Regions from separate parts of the Homo sapiens genome. Here all the other regions are linked to region 4. The links are contacts of gene promoters, found by promoter capture Hi-C in blood cells and fetal thymus (Javierre and others, 2016). All regions are on one chromosome and are shown on one strand. The core of a region is centred on a gene start or on the middle of the fragment in contact, and the rest is flanking DNA. Distances in the headings are between cores, read along the strand shown.

Region 1 (2,714 bases), core at 184-2,683, 420 kb before region 4:
CCAAATAATAGTAATAGCAACCGTGACAATAATAATAACTGCATTAACCCATACCAGGCACTGCACTAGGCACCTTGCCTGTATTATCCTGTTTAATCCTCTTAAGAGCCCTAAGAGGTAGGATCTCTTATCATTCACATTTTATGGAGAAGGAAATGAAAGCACAGAGAAGTCAAGTAATTGTACAGGGTCACACAACCAACATAATAAATGGTGGGGCCAGGATTTGAAGTCAGCTCTCTGGCTCCAGAGCCCCCACTCTTAAAGACCCCACATGCAACACTGTGTGGCTAGAAGCGAGTGCTCTGTTCCACCCTAACCAGCCACGCCTGGGTTTCCTGTCTCCCCCATCCCAGTGGCTGCCTGAAAGTGCAAGGTATGATGTGCTGTCAGGGAACCAGGAAAAGGCAATCGCCACCTTAAAGAGGATAGCAACTGAAAACGGAGCTCCCATGCCGCTGGGGAAACTCATCATCTCCAGACAGGTCAGTGCCTGGACCAATAGACTCTGCAATGTGCGTATCGGGGTGCATGCAGGGGAGTGTGTGCATATGGAGTAGGGCATGCATGCGAGGACACATGTGGGTATGTGTACCCAAGGTGGGGTGTGTGCGTGCACATGGAGCAGATGAGGGCCCAGTAGACAGGACCTGCAAGGGTAATTTGGCAACTCCAATCTGTATTTTCACTTCCAAGTTCTAAAAATGCTTCCTGGAGAATTTCACCAGTGATTAGAGAAAAGTAACCTCTGCTAATGGGTCCTGTAACTGCTCCTGCTTTGGTTTCGCCTTTCAGCACAGATGAAGTCTGACTAGCGAATGAGACTGATTGGCAAAAGCTGTGCAATAAAACCATATCAGGAAGGAGTGTGCTTAGATCTAGGGGATCAAACCGCACCCTGTGTAGGTGTTCTTAATGAATGGTGCCTCACTCCGCTGGTAACACCATCAGGGAGTCCACCACGGTGAAACTTAATGAGCACCTAGTATATGTAGGCACCAGCATTGCACACATGGGGAGAAAAGATTCGGATTTAAGGCTGCAGTCCCTGCCCTCAAGAACCATCCAAGCCGATTGAAGAAACATGACAAATACCTTAAGCAGACATCAGATCCTATAAAGAAATTACCTTTTAAAATAAAGTTATATTTCTGATTCTTTTTATATTATGCAAGAAGAACTGAATGGCATTTCACCAAGTTGGAAGGAGGTGTTTGGTCTGACAACATAGAGTCCAGGGGACCTGCCCCAAATCTACAGGGGCAGAGCAGGATGGATTCCTCAAGAGGTGCAGAAGCCTATTTGGTTGCCTTTGGGGAGAGATCCCTTCCATGGATGAGGGAAAGCCAGGCTGGTCTCGAACTCCTGGCTTCAAGTGATCAACCTGCCCCGGCCTCCCAAAGTGCTGGGATTACAGGCACGAACCACCACACCTGGCCATAGCATATATTTTTTAAAGAACATCGTAAAGCAAAGTTTGATAAATTTGTGAATTATGTAAAATTGGCCAATCGGTCATTTAGCTAATCAATCTTTTGGTAAATTGGCCTTTGGTGAATTAGTTTCTCAGCACATTAACTGTTGCCACCTAGACCTAGAACTGGGGAAGGCACATGTGTGTGTGTGAAATGGCTGGACATGCTTTGGACTGGTTTTCTGCTTGCTGTGTCCTTGGATCTGTGCTGAGGTCTGAGGGGCCAGGAAGGAGGGATCTGCTTCCCAAGTCCAGGTTTCCAGGTTGGAGGGCGTGAGATCCATCCTGTGGGGATCATGCCCCTGGACATGGCTGGGTTCTGGCTGGAGGGGCTGGGAGGCTGCGTCCTGTAGATTTGAGACCTGGGTTCTCAGAGCTCCAGTGTCCTACTTACTAGAAACCTTCCTCCCAGCCTGGTGTGCACTAGTCTCAGGCCACCAGCCCATCTCCCGTGCATCTGTAGGGGAGAGAATAAACACTATGTCCTTGTTTTGAAACAGGAAGACCGAGGCAAAATGAGGGACCTTTTCACACCCCATTTTAGATGGACAACTTTGCTGCTGTGGTTTATATGGTAAGAGCTGTTTGTTGACCACTTTGACCCCTTTCCACTCCCTGTGCCCTGTTTTGGGTTTTGTTTTAATGCAATGGACAGATAGCACTTTGATTTCAGGCAGCGTTTGCAAATTTCAGTAGTTCGAACATCATCCTCCTGATTTCCGTCATATCCAGGTTATCATCTGTACGTACTATCATTTCCTTCATCTTTTTCTTTAACTTGACTGCTTTTAATCACCGTGCAGGCTGGAGTGCAGTGGCGCTCTCCTAGCTTACTGCAGCCTTGAACTCCTGAACTCAAGCAATCCTCCCTCCTCAGCCTCCCCAAATTCTGGGATTACAGTTGTAAGCCGCTGAACCAGGCTTATAACTCTACTTTAAAAGAAAACACCTTAATTGCAAGTCACAGATAGAAGGCACTCTTAAAGAGAAATATCAGCAAAAGTAACTAGACGGAGGTTTGCAGAGGCAGTGAGCCTCTGTATTTAAGAGATAAGAAGGCTGGCTGGGCATGGTGGCTCATGCCCATAATCCCAACACTTTGGTAAGGTCAAGGTGGGAATATCTCTCGAGGCCAGCAGTTTGAGACCAGGCTGGGCAACACGGTAAAACCCTGTCTCTACAAAAAATGTTTAAATTAGCTGGGTGTGGAGGCATGCACCTGTGGTCCCAGCTACTCAGG
Region 2 (2,700 bases), core at 69-2,568, 290 kb before region 4:
AAAAAGAAGTAAAAGAGGGTGACTAAATAAAACATAGATTCTTAATATTGTTTCCCAGTCTGCTCCCCAAACCTCTTCAGTTAGTTTCTATATTAAAATGACTTTCTAGAACTTGTTTTCTTAAGAAATCTAAGCATCTAAGCTATTAGAATGTTGATGGGGGGATGGGTGGAAATGTAATTATTTAGAATGCAGGCAGATGTCTCTGTTGCATATTAAAGACTTTTTCTTCCAGCTGCTAAGCTTAATTGTGGGTCTTAGGTTCAATGTGGGTCATATGAACATATGTTCAGGGTTACCACGCTTCAGGAGCAGTTCTTAATTCTCTGGAGTTAATTGATGGGTTGTAAAATAACCCGTGAACCACCTGATTGGAAGAGTTATGAAGTAGTTTGTTGTTGTTTGTTTCTGCTGCTCTTTGGAAATAATGTGGGGTGTTCTGGCCACTCTTAGATTCAATCAGTGAATATGTCCCAAGGACTAGCTCCGTGTCCTGGCGGGCTGAATGTTTCAGGCTATATGCATTCCCCAGCCGCCTGTATGTGTAAGTGTGACTCCAAGAGTGAGCCCTTTACAAACTGCACTTCTCAGCCGGGCATGGTGGCTCACGCCTATAATCCCAGTACTTTGGGAGGCCGAGGCGGGCAGATCACTTGAGGCTAGGAATTCAAGACCAGCCTGTCCAACATTGTGAAACCCTGTCTCTCCTAAAAATAGAAAAATTAGCTGGGCGTGGTGGTGGGCGCCTGTGGTCCCAGCTGCTCGGGAGGCTGATGCAGGAGAATTGCTTGAACCCAGGAGGCGGAGATTGCATTGGGCCGAGAACGTGCCACTGCACTCTAGCCTGGGAGTGACAGAGCGAGACTCTGTCCCAAAAAGAAATAATCAACCAATCAATCATTGCCCTTCCCTTCCCGTATTTGAACCCCTTTGTCAGAGGAGAAAACCCTGCATCTCTTGTGCCTTCCCAGGCCTGACCCTGTCTTCTCCTCGCCCCAGGTCTGCCCTGCAGGTGCTTCACAAGGCCTGCGAAGTGGCCCGGAGGCACAACTACTTCCCCGGGGGTGTAGCTCTCATCTGGGCTACCTACTATGAGAGCTGCATCAGCTCCGAGCAGAGCTGCATCAACGAGTGGAACGCCATGCAGGACCTGGAGTCTACGCGGCCCGACTCCCCCGCGCTATTTGTGGACAAGTAAGTGAGGTGCCTCTGGTGTGAGCGCACCCAAGCCCACAGGCACCTGCCTCTCCCCCACCTGCCCTGTGCCCGACCCTGAACCTGCATTGGGCCACACCTCCCCTGGAGTCCCTTGAGTGAGAACCCTAGCTTTCTCAGAACCAGCGTTTAAAGCAGGGGTCTGTGACACAGGCCCCTGTCCCATGCAAAAAAAAGAAAAAAAAAAAAAAAATTACTGATGAATTTGGTGAATGCATTTCTGGGGACGGGGTCCGTAACTCCCATCAGACTCTCAAAGGAATGTGTGGCCCTTTGTGTCCCCAACTCCTTCCAGAGCTCTGTGGTCTGGCCTTTTCTCTTCAGATTACCAGAGACTTAATTCTCAGAGCCTCCCGCTCTGCTCTGAGGAGAGTTAGGAATGTGTCCTCTGCTTCCTTGGATCCAAAAACACAACTGGTGAGGGCAGCCTGCCTTAGCAGCAGCCATGGTGAACCACATGACCTGTGTCGTGTGACCTACGACAGCGCTGACATGGAGAGGCCACACTCGCTGAAGTCTAGTTAGGGAGAATGCTGGTCGCCCCTCCCCTCGGGGTCAGGACCCTGCTCCCACAGTGTGGTGTTCCTCCAGGACACTGCATTTTGGGAAGACTATGGATAAACCACAGTGTGTTCAGAGGGCAGAGACCTGAGGGATGGGAAGCCACATTAGGAGAGGGCCTTGAAATCACGGAGGAAGGGTAGTTGCCTTTGAATATTTGAAGATTCCTCATGGGGAAGAAGGATTATCCTGGTCTGTGTGTCCCCTAGAGTTAAAACCAGAGCAGGGAAATACCCAGATTTTGATTCTGAGGAAAAAGGGGATAATGGGATCTGCTGCAGCTGGGCCGGGCTGCCTCAGACAGTGAGGTCCTCATGCCCACACGTGTTCGAGCAGAGACTCAAGGGCCCAGGGGCCTGGGGATGTTGCGCTGGGCATCCCAGCATCCTGCCCTAAGAGCGTCTGAGCAAGGAGTTTCCACACTGTCCTCTCCCCGCTTGACCTGCTCCCTGCTCTGTTGACTCCCGTGGGAGTTCTAGAGCTGCAGCGGGTTTTCTGTGCACCTCTCCCTGCTGCCTGAGAACATGCACACCAAGAAGCGTGCTCTCCTTGCCAAGCCGTGTTCTGTTTAGACCCAGGAGCATCTGGCATTCCTGTAACCTCCGACCACAAGCTTTCTACAGCTCCTTGCTCTCCTAAACGTCATTTCTTTCCAGGCCCACTGAAGGGGAAAGGACCGAGCGCCTCATCAAAGCCAAGCTCCGAAGCATCATGATGAGCCAGGATCTAGAAAATGTGACTTCCAAAGAGGTAAGACAACTCCTCCCTTCATTGCAGGTCAGAGGTCATGCAGCCTCCATGTGTCCTGCTCCCGAAAGTGCAGCAAAAGCAGGCCCAACATCTGGTTGTCTTTACCTGTCCTCTGGTATCAGCCCCCGGAGGCTTTTTTCTGCCTCGTTCTACAATTGTATCAGGCCTCGGAGT
Region 3 (2,700 bases), core at 194-2,693, 440 kb before region 4:
TAAGAGAAAGCTGGCCAGGCGCGGTGGCTCATGCCTGTAATCTCAGCACTTTGGGAGGCCAAGACGGATAGATCACTTGAGCTCAGGAGTTTGAGACCAGCCTGACCAACATGGTGAAACCCCATCTCTACTAAAAATACAAAAATTTTCCGGGCTTGGTGGCGGGCACCTGTAGTCCCAGATACTTGGGAGGCTAAGGCAGGAGAATCGCTTGAACCTGGGAGGCAGAGGTTGCAGTGAGCCAAGATCGTACTGCTGCACTCCAGCCTGAATGACAGAGTGAGACTCTGACTCAAAAAAAAAAAAAAAAAAAAGAATTAAAAGCTGAGGTTGGACAGGTAGGCCAGGGCAAGCTTGTTAAAGGCCTAAAATGCCAGGCCAAAGGGATTCTATTGGTGATGAGGAGCCACTGAGAGTTCTTGAGCAGCGGAGGTACCTAGAAGTATGGATCTGGCTATGGCAGGTAGAACAGCTTGGAGGTAAGGAATCATTAGGAAAATTTTGCAAGAGGACCAGGGCGATCCCTTGTAGTGTATTCATTTATTCCACCAATATTTCTTGAGTACCTAGAAATGCTAGGTGCCAGGACGCAGCATTGAGCAAGAGCACCATGGTCCCTGTTCTAGGATGGGATCCTGGGGAATAGACTTTGAGATGGAGATTACTGTGCAGGTGGTTACTAGGATTAACACCTGTAAGAAAGTGAGAAAATTAGGACCAGCGAAGGGGGAAGCTGAGTTGCCATACCATTGCCACAGAGGCCTCTGGTCAGCTTACAGGGTTTCAGAAGCAGAGGTGGCCCTTCAGAGGTGTTTCAGATTGGGGCGGGGGGGCTAGGCCTTTTTACCCTCACACCAACCAGGCATCGGATGTGGGCTGCCCTCAAGGATGGAGCATGATCTTAGGCAAGGCAGCTACTTTTGGCCAAGGCAACTTCTGCAAGGGACTCAGCTCCTGGCAGGCAATGCTCCTGCTCATTTTGGAGGGAATAAAAGCCTCAGTCCTGAAGGGCAGACCAAGTAGCACATCACAGCATCCTCCACAGTCCAGGGTGGACCCACTTGCTTCAAATATAGTCATGCGTCACTTAATGATGGGGATGTGTTCCAAAAATGCATCAATAGGTGATTTTGTCACCGTGCAAACATCATAAACTGTCCTCACACAAAGCTAGATGGGACAACCTCCTACACAGCTAGGCTATACGGTATAGCCTATTGCTCCAGGGCTACACACCCGTACAGCATGTAGCTGTGCTAAATACTGCAGACAATTCGAACACAATGGTATTTGCATCTCTAAACACATTTAGACATAGAAAACCTACAGTAGAAACACAGTATTAAATTAAAAAAAAAAAAAGGCCAGGCATGGTACCTTACACCTGTAATCTCAGCACTTTGGGAGGCTGAGGCAGGAGGATCCCTTGAGCCCAGGAGTCTGAGATCAGCCTGGGCAACATAGCTAGACCCCCTCGCTATTAAAGAATAATGAAAATAGGCCAACTCTGGGTGCACTGCCTATGAGTTAGCCCTGCTCTGCACGAAGCAGTACTCTTCAATAAAAGATTGCAAAATAAATAAGTTAATTAATTACCACAGTATTATAATCTTATGGGACCACCATCATATATGTGGTCTGTTGTTGACTCAAATGTGTTATGCAGCCCATAATTGTAATCAGCTCACCCCGCCTAAGAACAGTTCCTCCAGGATTCTGGATAATCTCTTTTCTGCAAAAGTCTCACGGCTGCAATGGATGCCAATGGAGCTCACAGTTGAGTTCCTTGCAGAAGTTGCCTTGGCCAAAAGGCCAAATGTCTCCCACCTCTGCTTCCCATTCTAAATTCCTCTCAGCTTCAGCGAGCACTCTCGCTGATCTAGACGGTTTACCTGGGTGGGTGACTGAGATCTCATGCCTAAGGGATTCGAGTCCCTGGTCGCCATGCCTCTTTTAGGCCATAGCTGCTGCGCTTGTCCATTTAACACCAAAATTGAGCAGGAGATTACCAAGAGATGTCTGGTATATCACCTGGGTGGCCCTATGATAGATGGGGCTTATTAAGTCTTAATGGTGGTTAGGATCAATTTCTCTGACATGGGACCCAAGGAGCCCACGGTGACTCTTTTTCTTGCCTGTTCATTTCTTGACACAAAGGAGCCCAAAGTTACTGGGTAGCAGCTGTTGCTTAAAGTCTAATGGGTCCGGGCACGGTGGCTCACGTCTGTAATCCCAGCACTTTGGGAGGCCAAGGCAGGTGGATCATGTGAGGACAGGAGTTCGAGACCATCCTGGCCGACACAGTGAAATCCCGTCTCTACTAAAATTACAAAAATTAGCTGGGTGTGGTGACACACACCTGTAATCCCAGCTACTTGGGAGGCTGAGGCAGGAGAATCCCTTGAACCCAGGAGGCGGAGTTTGCAGTGAGCTGAGAGCGCGCCACTGCTATCCAGCCTCGGCGACAGAGCAAGACTCCATCTCAAAAAAGACATTCTACTGAGACTCTTGCTGTGTCTCCTGTGGAAGCTTTCCCTCCCTGGGAGCCAGGACCTCTAGACCCACCGAGCCCAGAAGTTGCAGGATGTGAAGTACAAATCCCCTGATCTGGGTCACTGAGACTGATGACAGTGAAGCCTACTCTTACTTCAACCCCTTAATTTCCAGACCCATGAATCTTTTCTCCTGGGAATGAAGCAT
Region 4 (2,707 bases), core at 14-2,513:
TCTCGCCGGGAGCAAGTGACAGCCTTAGGACTTGAACTCAGGAACCCCACGGCTCTAAAGTGTCCCCCCTTCCCATATATCCCTGTGGCTTCTGACCACAAACACTGGATTTGTGGACATATGTCAAACATTTGGGACATAAATGACTGACAGACACCCAGGCAGATCAGCCACAGCAGTTCTGACGCCCAATCTTTGATAAGCACAATTGTTGGGTGGCCTCATTTATTGCCCTCACCCTGATATTCAGCCACAGCTCCCACAGTGCCCTTCCCCTCTCTGGCCTTCCATTTCTGGCCTGTCCAGAAGGGACCCCATCAAGAAGATGAGCAGTTCGAGCATCTCGAAAGGAACTCAGGCTGTGGGCCACAGTGCTTGGCCTCAGTGACAACATGGCTTGTATGTGCTTGGGGCTGGCAGTGGGAGTGGAGGTGGGGCCAGGCATGCAAACACTATGCTAACAATAAGCACTTATTAAGCAACTATGGTGTCCTAGGTGCTGAGCAGTGTACTGGCCACGCATTGCCTCGTTTCACCCTCATGCCACCCTATGAAGGAAGAGCTACCGCTAGCTCCATTTTACAGACAAGGGAAACCAAGACACAGAGAGCATAAGTTAAATTCCAGAAGGCCCACAGGAGGTAAACAGAGGCATCCGGAAGGAAACCCCAGGGCCTCTGAACCCGGTCCCCAGGTCTCGATTTCTACCTTATTACTAAGCAGGGCCTGTGCACCTGCTCTGGGCTGGTCCTGACCCGGGAATGACTGATGGATCACGGGGTTCTGAGTCTCATGGGGATCCTGGCCCATTGCCACAGAACATGTGAAATGGCTTGGGGTGCGCTTTAATAGGGGTGCGCCTGGAGTGCTGCGCGGGTCCAGGGGTCTGGGCGGGCTTCCCGAGGGGACAGGCTCCTGGGCGGGGCGGTACAGGAAAGGGGGCAGTTCGCCGGTGCCAGGGGTGTGTGCAGGGAAGGAGTGCGTTCTGGGAGGCGCGAATCTCTCCCCCACACTTCCCTAGAAAGGGAGAACTGAGGCCCGGAGAGGGGAGGGGACCGGTCTGAGTCCCCTCCAAGACTGCAGAGCCTCCCTTCCCGAACCCCGCCCAGGGCTCGCGGCCCCGTCGCACCCTTCCCGGCTTCATCCTCTCGAGCCCCTAGGGCTTTTCCCCTTCTCACCGCGCGCAGCTGTCAGAACCCCAACCGCCTTCCCCGCGCTCCCAGCTCCGGGCCGCCGGCTCCCGGGTCCTCCTTCTCCGCCGGCCTCTGGCCCCGCCCCCGGCGACTTGCCATTGAACCGCCCGCAGCCCTCGTCGCGGCGGATTGGCTTTCCCCACTTGTCCTTCCCTCGCATTTCCGGGTTCCCGCGTCCGCGTCGGCTTCCCCGGGAAAGACGCGCCGTGGGCCACTCCCATTGGTTGTTGCTTGCGTTTGTCTCGTTCACGTAGCAGCCAATAAGCAGCGGGAGGGGCGGGGCCTAGGCCACAGGCAGGAGGAGCAGGTGCTGGAAACCCGATGGGCGTGCGGATTTGGGGCACACTAGGTGGCGGGCCCGGAAACTGGAAGTTCCACGGCGGTCTTTTCCTCGGGTCTCTTCGTCCCGGAGCCGCTGTCGTGTGCCTCATTTTTCCCGGTTGTGAAATGAAGATGCTGATGCTTTTCACCCCTTCACCCGGTTAGCCTGCTTGACTGCGCAGCCCCTGTTCTTAGCCTCCACCCCATGCTGCTGAGTTTGCCGCCTTCTTCTTCTTTACTCTTTTCCTCTCTGTGTCTTTTCCTCCCTGACTTAAACAACTTTTTTTTTTCTTATAAAATACAGGGTCTCGTTGTGTCGCCCAGGCTGGAGTGCGGTGGAGCAATTGCAGCTCACTGCAGCCTCCACCTCCTGGGCTCAAGCAATCCTCCCATCTCAGCCTCCCGAGTAGCTGGGACTACAGGTGCATGCCACCATGCCCGGCGAATTTTCTTTTCTTTTCTTTTCTTTCTTTCTTTCTTTTTTTTTCTCTCTCTCTGTCTTGCTTTCTTTCTTTTTTTTTGAGACGGAATCGCACTCTGTTGCCCAGGCTGGAGGGAAGTGGCACGATCTTGGCCCACTGCAACCTCCGCCTCCCAGGTTGAAGCGATTCTCCTGCCTCAGCCTCCCGAGTAGCTGGGATTACAGGCGCGCATCACCACGCCCGCCTAATTTGTGTATTTTTAGTAGAGATGGGGTTTCACCACGTTGGCCAGGCTGGTCTCGAACTCCTGACCTCAGAAGATTCGCCTGCCTCGGCCTCCCAAAGTGCTGGGATTACAGGCGTGAGCCATCGCGCCCGACCTATTTCTGATTTTTTATTTTCTTTAGAGACCGGGTCTCACTATGTCGCCCGGGCTGGTCTCGAACTCTTGACCTTAAGCTCTCCCTCCATCTCGGCTTCCCAAAGCGCTAAGATTACAGGCGCAAGCCACCCCCTCGGTTCTCCCTGACTTTTTAATTTGTATCCTCTCCAGAAGGACCTGGCTAGTTCTTTTGGCTTCCCAGAGAGAAATTTTTTCCTTGAAGCAGAGAATGGAAACCTCCATCTTAATCCACAAATACTGAAATTAAACATCTAGGGAGGTGCCCCAGAAACGCTAAGCATTTAGAAGTTAGCAGTTCAGATTCTGGGGAGTCAAAGAGACCTGAGCTCAAATTCAGACTTTGCCATTTACTCTCCGTGTCACCTTGG
Region 5 (2,751 bases), core at 140-2,639, 460 kb after region 4:
TCTTTTTATGACACAAAAGTTAACTTGACTTCTTCTTACAGAGTTCAATGCCTAACACATCCAAATGCAGTCACTGTCTTTGGCCTAAAGCCTGATGCATAGTAAACATTCAATAAATTTTTGAATGAGGGGACCATATAGAATTAATAAGTGAATTAATAAAATAACATTAGGCATCATTTACTGAATAAATTGTATACCAAATTATAGTAGACTGTTTCAAAAATGGCTCTAATTATTCCCCTCCCTATAACTACACTCCTTTGCAATGTGATTTTGCATCCCCTCCCATTAAAAGATGGAGTCTGTTTTCCTGCCCCTGATTCTTGATTGGCTTTGTAACTTGTTTTAGTTGATAGGATGTGACAGCAGTGATTGGGTGTCATTTCCAATCCTAAACCTCAAAAGGCCCTGTGAGTGTTCCCTCACTGTCTTGGACCCCGTCACTTGCCAGCTGGAGGATAAAAATTAAATAGAGCAAGGAAAGATGGTCCAGCCAGGGCCATCCTAGATCAGCCAGCCCCAGCTGACCCAGCACTGATGGAAGCAGCACTGATGGAAGCCACACTGAGATCAACTGAGTCTAGAACTGCTTACATGAACACAGCCCAAATTGCTAACTCTCACTCAGCATTGTTGGCTTAAGACACGAAACGGTAGAGTTGTTTTCTTATTAACAGCAAAAGCTGACTATTACACAAGTACCGTGTCACATACGTAACATATTTAACCCATACAGCAATCCTCCAAAGTAGGTGTAATAGATACAGTTATCTGTCTTCCAAAATATGTTCTTTCCTTATTCTACACTAAGATAATTCTAGTTAGGACACTGTGACGCAGCTAAGGACTAAATTTCTGAGCTCCCCTTGCTGTTACGTGTGGTAATGTGAGTGTTTTCTTGCCAAGAATTGGCAGAGCGGAAATGACATTACAAATTCTACCTCAATTGCTTAAGAGAAAACCCCTAGCTTTGGAATTCTGCTATTTTCCCTTTCCTGGTGACTAGATGGGAATAACTAAAATGTCTGTGTGTTGGAGATAGCAAACCCCATCAGCCTGAATCCCTGAATATTCTTTGGAGGGGGCATGCCCTAGACTGTTACATGGGCGAGAAACAAACTTCCGACTTGTTGGAGCCTCTAATGCCACATAGCCTGTTTGTAATAGCAACTAGTATTATCCTAATGCAATAGAGATTTTAATCTCCATTTTACAGGGGAGAAAGAAGAGGCTCAGAGATGTGACATGACTGGTCTCTAAGCTGCACTTTTCAGCAGAGTAGCCACTTTACCCACATGTAGCTACTTAAATTAATTAAAATTAAATTAAATTAAAATCCAGTACTTCAATCACACTAACCACACGTCAAGTGTTCAACAGCCACATGTGGCTACTGGCTACCTTATTGTACAGCACAGGTATACTACATTTCCATCTGCACAGAACGCTCTATCAGATGGCATGGCAAAACCATGATCCTAACTGAAGTCTGAGTGACTTCGTGCTTTGCTTACCTGCCTGCCTCCTGCTATGCAGAATTATTATCAAGAGTTGCTCCCCTGGTGCACGTATGTGTTTGTTTACAGATCATTATTATCTATTTGTCAGAGAGGATGGAAGGAAGTGGAGACTTATAATTAAAGGATGATGGCAGCTGGTGAAAGGATCAATGAGAAAAAAGAAGTCATCTCTGAAACATTCACACTAAGTCATTAAGAATACCACTTGAGGCTGGGCGCGGTGGCTCATACCTGTAATCCAGCACTCTGGGAGGCCAAGACAGGCCTTGGGTTAGGAGGTTAGGAGATCGAGACCATCCTGGCTGACATGGTGAAACCCCGTCTCTACTAAAAATACAAAAAAAAAAAAAAAAAAAATTAGCCAGGTGTGGTGGTGGGCATCTGTAATCCCAGCTACTCGGGAGGCTGAGGCAGGAGAATGGTGTGAACCCAGGAGGCGGAGCTTGCAGTGAGCCAAGATCGCACCACTGCACTCCAGCCTAGGCAACAGAGCGAGACTCTATCAAAAAAAAAAAAATTCACTTGATTTGTCGAAGTTAGACATGAAACAATATAGGCACCTCTACCTCCACTCATTCCTTTAAAGCAGGGTGGCCCACCCTGGGCAAGATTAACTGCTCTTTCCTTGCAACTGCTAAGGAAGGGATTCACATTGATCTGTCTGAGATGGTTATGGTCAAAGAAAGCCTGTCGGTTTGCAGGGCTGTTGGGTGCTGCTGGATATATTCACCACACTGGTCTAGCTGGGTGAGATATCAGAATGAGGAGGATAGGGAGAGCAGCTCAAGAAAGAAAAACCCACGGGATAATGTCCCAAAGGGGAAACTGGGCATGGTGGTGTGGCCATGCAACATTATCTCACCTCTGTCTTCCAGCTACAGTCAGCCTCAAGCTGAGTATACAGGTCCTTCTTCTTTTGCCCCTCACTTGATTCTAAGGATAACCAGGATGGCAACTACATGCATGTGCTTTACAGATAGCTGTTGAGTACTTAACGGTGTGCCGGGCAGGGTTCTAGTCACTGTGGGGATGCAGCAGTGGAAAGGGTCCTTGCCTTCACAGGTGTAGTCTAGTTAGGGAGAAAGATAAGTGCACAGGACATTATGATAAAGGGTTTCCGAGCTAGAGGAACATGTGGCGTGAGGGCTGTGGGGAAAAAGAGAAGGGTCTATAATGGGCTAAATTGTTCCGCCTGCACCATAACCCATTCACATGTTGAAGTCCTGAC
Region 6 (2,700 bases), core at 32-2,531, 310 kb before region 4:
GTCATCCTTCAGAATGTTGATTTGAATCGGAAGGGGGTCTTGTTGCTTGGGGTTGGTTCCTTGGGGCCAGTTGTTTGCCCTCACAATGTCGAATGCACACCCCGGTGCTTGTTTCTCCGGCCTACAGAAAAGCCCGTAGGAGTGCAGTGATTAGAGGAACCTCAGCTGTTTTGCTGAATGGCCCTCTTTCATCAGGATGTGCTGGGACAAGGGCCTTTTTCAGCCAAAATATCAGAGGAAGACAAGAGTTCCACAAGAGCCATTTGCTTTTCGGGTAGGACTCTGAGGAGGAGTTGGCTCCCCAGCCCTCGTGGAAGCACTCGGCAGCCTCCTGGCTTTTCCTGATCTCCATAGGGAGCAGATGGCCAGAGCTCGGAGGGCAGTTGTAGGGAGCGTTAGAGATGTGAGCACTGCAGCCACGAACCTCTTTTATTTTACCGACTTCTGCATCTTCCTTCAGCCAACCCACTGCTTCTGCTGTCCAGAGGTTTCCAGCTCAAATTAGTACGTATGACCACCCTGATTACTGGTTTCCTGCCATGGCTTGGTTTCTGGATGACACTGGCTGTTTATATTTTGGGGGCCTGGGGTTTTTTGAGGAGCATTGATTGAGGTTTTTTGTCTGTCTTCAATGCTTTGGAGAAACTTTAATCTTATGAAGCTTCCCGAATGGCAGTAATCAGTGTCCGAGAACAGATCTGTGTGGTGGAGATAAAAACATTCCAGTTGGCGGGTAGAGAGGGCAGCGGCTTTTTTTTTTTTTATCCCTCATCAAGATTTTTCTTACAGCGGTGGAGGAAGACATTTCCGTTTTGTCTGTCTGCGTCTGACCTTTTGTAACTTTAGTCACTCCTTTTAGGACACTCAGATCTTTTGTGAGAAGAGTGACTTCTGGGTGGCTGGGATGGATGGCTTGTGGGTTTGGGCTTCCTGGCCCCAGACACCTGGTAAAGTGAGCGTGCCATCACCAATGTGGATTTCTTCATGGACTTCCCCAGTGGGACACTTTGAGGGTCTGATGAATCGGGAGCCTGTGCCTCTGGGCATCAGAAGCTGCAGTCGTCAGATACAGTATTCAGGTCAGCCACGCAGAGGGCGCATGAGGCTCTGGGCCCAGAGTGAGCTCAGAAGAGAAGCCAGGAAGCCGGGTCACAGAGACTTTCTGCATCTTGTTTTCATAAATCCTGTGACTGACCATGCTCTGCGGCCTCCCACCCCACCCCCCACCCGGAGAGTCATGTCGTGCGGTTTCCTCTGGCTGTATCTCCTGACTGTATTTGCAGGACGCAGGGTGATCTCACAGCTTCGGGATAATGCGCTGCTACTTGGGCTTCCCTGCAGCTTCCAGTCTTGCTTTTTACAGTAAATGCCTGTTACTTGATTGTCGTGGGGGAACAGAGGCAGAGTGTTCCAGGGCCCCAATCAATGCCATCCTGACTTCATGCGTAGAGCAGGAGTCCCTGATTCTTATCAGTGTAGGAACATGGAGGAGGAACAGCTGGCCTTGTAAGTGATCACAGAGTGAAACCAGCCTAGTCTGTTGCATTGTTCCTTTTTTTTTCCAAAGGAAATATAAGGGAAACCAAGGGGAATTTTTGCTCATGGTTTCCAAGGCAAAGGTCATCGTTAATGGTTGGCTGTTTCCAGCGTGCTTGGGTTTCTGGTCAGTATGAATTTTTTTTTTTTAATCTCATGAACAAAAGCAGTTGATGTTGTCTCGAAAAGATTTTCCCAGCTGCTTCGATGAACTGATGGTTGTTTTAGGTTTCATGAGTTTGGAACCTCTCGCATAGCTGTTTCAGATTTTGATGAGAATAAATAGTAAATGATCTGTGTCTAAGAACAGTTCTGAAAACATACTCAGCTGTGAGATTCTAAGGAAGGAGAGAGTGACAAGCTTTGCAGGTGGAAAGGGTTAGGTGATTCTGCAGCCTGTGAAATGAGATCGGCCAGATGGATGCTAAAGAGCTTTTTACTTCCTATGAGTGAGGGTGAGACAGCAAAGAAAGGCTGCTTCTCGTTTCTTTCGTTATTTATAATCCTGAGCTCCTCAACACTTGAACCTTGCAGCACAAATATATGCCTGTGAGAGGGTGGAAAGGATGACTCGGCAGTGCATCTGCAGTAGTGGACAAAATGCTGTTAGATGTCAAGTATTGGTGTCACAAGATATCGAAAACCAATTGCCTGGAATTCAGAGGACTGAACAAGAAGGCAAAACTAAGTCTTCTTACTTAATATTTGAGCAGTCACTATTTTTAGCATGAGCATTTAACCAGAAAAACTAACAGATTTTATTGTGGACTTTATATCATAGAACATAACAGTCTTCCTGATCTCAGGAGCTGCTGATTGGAAATGCTAGTTCCTGTGGCATTTTCTTGGCACCCAGAGTCATACTTTAGACTTTGCTGAGTTTTTTATTCCAGAATTCGAACGTTTAACTACTAACATTAGATGTCTGGGGCAAAGGTGATCTTGCTTTCTTGTATTACAGAAAACATCTTCGTCTTTCTGTCAGGAATTGATTTACTTAATTTCAAGGTTCTCTTTAATTAGAAGACTGCTTTTTCTTAGGGATTTTTCCTTCAAATCATGTATATGTTCATTGGTTGTTCAAGAGCGAAATTTTTATAGTTGCCTACAATTTGAACTGTGACCTCCTTTTATGAAATTATTAAGATTAGAATGTTCTTTTTA
Region 7 (2,700 bases), core at 175-2,674, 430 kb after region 4:
AAAGGCAAGTACTGGCGAGTGGAGGGCCCTGCAGCCTGGATGCTGTTAACGCACTCTGGGGAAGGAAGGTTCTCCTTCCTGGCTTCAGTTTTAAGAGGCTCAACATTAAATTATGATGATATATGGCATGGAATTCTGCTGCCTTCTGGCCCCTGACAATTACATTTCTTCCAGGCACAACTCCAGAGAATCCATTTTGCTGTTCTCGGCAGAGTCTGGAGAGACCTGCAGGAAATTTGGTGCCCTCAGGAGCCACTTCTCACATCAGCCACTCAGAGACTTCCTATATAGTTTGACTACGTGGTGCTCCTCTCTGGGGTGCTGTCATTATTCTAAAGCCCAGAATTCAAAGGTTGTCACTGGACCCCAAGCTATCTGCCAAGACTCCCTCCCCTTCCTCTGCCAACATCATCACTTGGTACTTCATGGTATTACATGGTGCCTAGGGGATTCTGGAGTCAGACCAATGTGAGTTCAAAGCTTAGGTGTTACTCTATGAACTGGGTAAATTATTCAGTCTCTTTCAGCCTCCATATCTTTACCCGTAAAATGGATATTTATATAATTATGGAAAACAGGTAAATAATACTTCATAGGACTATGATAATTCTATGAGATTGTATCGGTTAGATGAACTACAATAATGCCACATAATAAATAACCATAAAACCTTAGGGATACATGAAAATTTGCAATTCAAAGAAGAAATATAAGCAGCCAATGCATGCACACATAAAAAGGCTTCATCACACTAGTAAACAAAGAAAGGCAAATAAAGAAAAAACAAGGTGTTAGTTTTCACCTATGTCCAATTGGCAATGTTTTAAAATACAGACTTTATGTTTTAGAACAGTTTTAGATTGACAGAAAATTTAATAAGATAGTTTGGAGTTCCCAGTCTTACCTATTAGTAACATCTTATCTTAATGTGATATATTTGTTTCAGCTAATGAACCAATATTGATAGAAAATTATTAACTAAAGTCTATATTTTATTCAAATATCCTTATGTTTTACCTAATGTCCTTTGTTTTGAGCCTAGAATCCCACCCAGGTAGCATTTACATATAGTTATCATGTCTCCTTACATTCCTCTTGACTATGATAGTTATGCACTTTCCTTGTTTTTTATTACCTTGAGAGTTTTGAGGAGCACTGGTCAGGTATTTTGTAGAATGTCCCTCTATTAGCTGATTTTTTTTAATGGATTGACTCAGGTTATGGGTCTGTGGGAGTAAGACCAGAGAGGTAACTGCAATTTTCATCACATTATATCAAGGGTACATACTAACAGCATGACTTATGACAATTGGTATTGGCCTTGATAACCTGGCTAAGGTAGTCTTTGTCAGGTATCTCCAGCCCACACTGAAAGAGTGAGGAGTTATGCTATCCCTCTTTGAGGGCAGAGCATCTAGGTAAATTGTTTGGAATTAGGCTGCATGACAGATTTGTCTCTTCTCCCCCATTCATTAAGCTATTCAGTCACTTATTTATATCAGTATACACTCAGAGATATATGATTTATACCTTGAGTTATAACTCAATTCTTTATTTATTTATCTTGTTCCAATTTTTCCAGCTTTGGCCATTGGAAGCTCTTTCACTTGGCTTCCGAGCTTCTTTGATATACACTCATTTGTTTTAGCACATCCTTGCAATCTGACACTATAAAAAGCTCCAGGCTCATCTTGTGCTTTTACTGCCCCAGTCATTGAAACAGCTATTTCTCCAAGTACCTCTGGTTCCTTTTATTAGAGAATGGTATTAGTAACCAAGATCTGGGCATTAGGTGTTCTTCTTGCTACAGGGGTGTCTTTGCTTCTAGGCCCTCTCAGCTGACATATTTTCTTATGATCTGTGAATACACTCACTAACCTGTGTAAATACACATATCTATAAATATTTCTGTATGTAACCATCTGTATCCATATTAAGCTAAACATTGAGTTCATACTGATGTCCCCAGCTCTGATTCATCGCCATATGGATCATCTAGCTTCCTGCCCTGGCTTATCTGTAAACTCCCACTCCAACAGTGAGAAACATGACTTTCACCAACTTATATCCATTTACTTAATTCTTCAACTCTAGTATACATGTATAGCAGTGTCAGAATTGTTAACCTGTATTCCTGTGGGAAACAACTTTATCAACTAGAGTACAGTCCTTATGTACAGTTCCTTCTGCCTTTTGTCTTGCAGACTCCATTTATTTCCAAAGTTATGCCAGCACCTCCCGTCACACTCCCTTCAATGTGGTTGCTTCAGGCATTTGTCATACAGTTAGATTCTTTGTCATAGTCTGCTTTCCCTCCTGGGATCCCAGCTCCTTAAATAATTTTTTTAAATTGCATTCATTAAGCTTCACTCTTTGTGCTTGAAAGTTCTATGGGTTTTGATAAATACTTAATGTCTTGCATTCACAATTACAGTATGATACAGAATTTCATTACTTTCTTAAAAATCCATTTGCTCCACCTACTCATCCCTATACCCTCTCTCTAAATCCCTAGCATCAACTGCTCATTTTACTCTCTCTTGAGTTTTGTCTTTCCCAGAATGGGTGATGATGTTTTCAAGTGCTAATATTTATTAAATAGTATCACTGAGATTATGAAGAAATAGGCCTCTGTTATGCTACATGTTGCAGTTTGCTCATTCATAGCCTAAATGTCTTTTTTTAAAAAAGGAAAAGGGG

The links. Contacts are between HindIII fragments. The CHiCAGO score rates a contact against its expected background, and 5 or more counts as called.
Region 1: a fragment that was not itself captured here is called in contact with the fragment with the promoter of FICD in region 4 in 1 of 17 cell types (neutrophils); the score reaches 6.5 in neutrophils.
Region 2: a contact is called between a fragment that was not itself captured here and the fragment with the promoter of FICD in region 4, in 4 of 17 cell types (neutrophils, fetal thymus, naive CD4 T cells and 1 more). The highest score is 8.6, in neutrophils.
Region 3: a contact is called between a fragment that was not itself captured here and the fragment with the promoter of FICD in region 4, in 1 of 17 cell types (neutrophils). The highest score is 7.0, in neutrophils.
Region 5: a contact is called between a fragment that was not itself captured here and the fragment with the promoter of FICD in region 4, in 1 of 17 cell types (M2 macrophages). The highest score is 5.1, in M2 macrophages.
Region 6: a contact is called between a fragment that was not itself captured here and the fragment with the promoter of FICD in region 4, in 1 of 17 cell types (neutrophils). The highest score is 6.2, in neutrophils.
Region 7: a fragment that was not itself captured here is called in contact with the fragment with the promoter of FICD in region 4 in 1 of 17 cell types (M2 macrophages); the score reaches 5.0 in M2 macrophages.

The regions. Positions count from the first base shown.
Region 1 is chr12:108,936,598-108,939,311 of GRCh38, reverse strand. SVOP (SV2 related protein) reads left to right here. Exons shown (of 16, transcript NM_018711.5): 9 at 357-485; 10 at 1,975-2,048. Among named protein-coding and RNA genes, the nearest start is that of DAO, 58 kb to the right of the region's middle. The HindIII fragment of the contact is 4,586 bases long and covers 1-2,714 here.
Region 2 is chr12:108,806,127-108,808,826 of GRCh38, reverse strand. It overlaps SSH1 (slingshot protein phosphatase 1), which reads left to right. Exons shown (of 15, transcript NM_018984.4): 8 at 1,000-1,194; 9 at 2,433-2,526. The region is part of intron 1 of LOC101929204 (a long non-coding RNA gene); the gene reads right to left. Among named protein-coding and RNA genes, the nearest start is that of MIR619, 30 kb to the left of the region's middle. RefSeq lists an enhancer at 2,034-2,700. The HindIII fragment of the contact is 2,146 bases long and covers 246-2,391 here.
Region 3 is chr12:108,956,966-108,959,665 of GRCh38, reverse strand. All of the region lies in intron 6 of SVOP (SV2 related protein), which reads left to right. Among named protein-coding and RNA genes, the nearest start is that of SVOP, 63 kb to the left of the region's middle. The HindIII fragment of the contact is 2,176 bases long and covers 356-2,531 here.
Region 4 is chr12:108,513,833-108,516,539 of GRCh38, reverse strand. It overlaps FICD (FIC domain protein adenylyltransferase), which reads right to left and starts at 1,263. Exons shown (of 3, transcript NM_007076.3): 1 at 1,179-1,263. RefSeq lists an enhancer at 1,732-1,791. The HindIII fragment of the contact is 9,938 bases long and covers 1-2,707 here.
Region 5 is chr12:108,057,214-108,059,964 of GRCh38, reverse strand. No RefSeq gene overlaps it. Among named protein-coding and RNA genes, the nearest start is that of WSCD2, 71 kb to the left of the region's middle. The HindIII fragment of the contact is 6,167 bases long and covers 1-2,751 here.
Region 6 is chr12:108,825,067-108,827,766 of GRCh38, reverse strand. The region is part of intron 2 of SSH1 (slingshot protein phosphatase 1); the gene reads left to right. Among named protein-coding and RNA genes, the nearest start is that of MIR619, 11 kb to the left of the region's middle. RefSeq lists an enhancer at 1-107. The HindIII fragment of the contact is 1,236 bases long and covers 664-1,899 here.
Region 7 is chr12:108,087,597-108,090,296 of GRCh38, reverse strand. No RefSeq gene overlaps it. Among named protein-coding and RNA genes, the nearest start is that of WSCD2, 40 kb to the left of the region's middle. The HindIII fragment of the contact is 1,884 bases long and covers 483-2,366 here.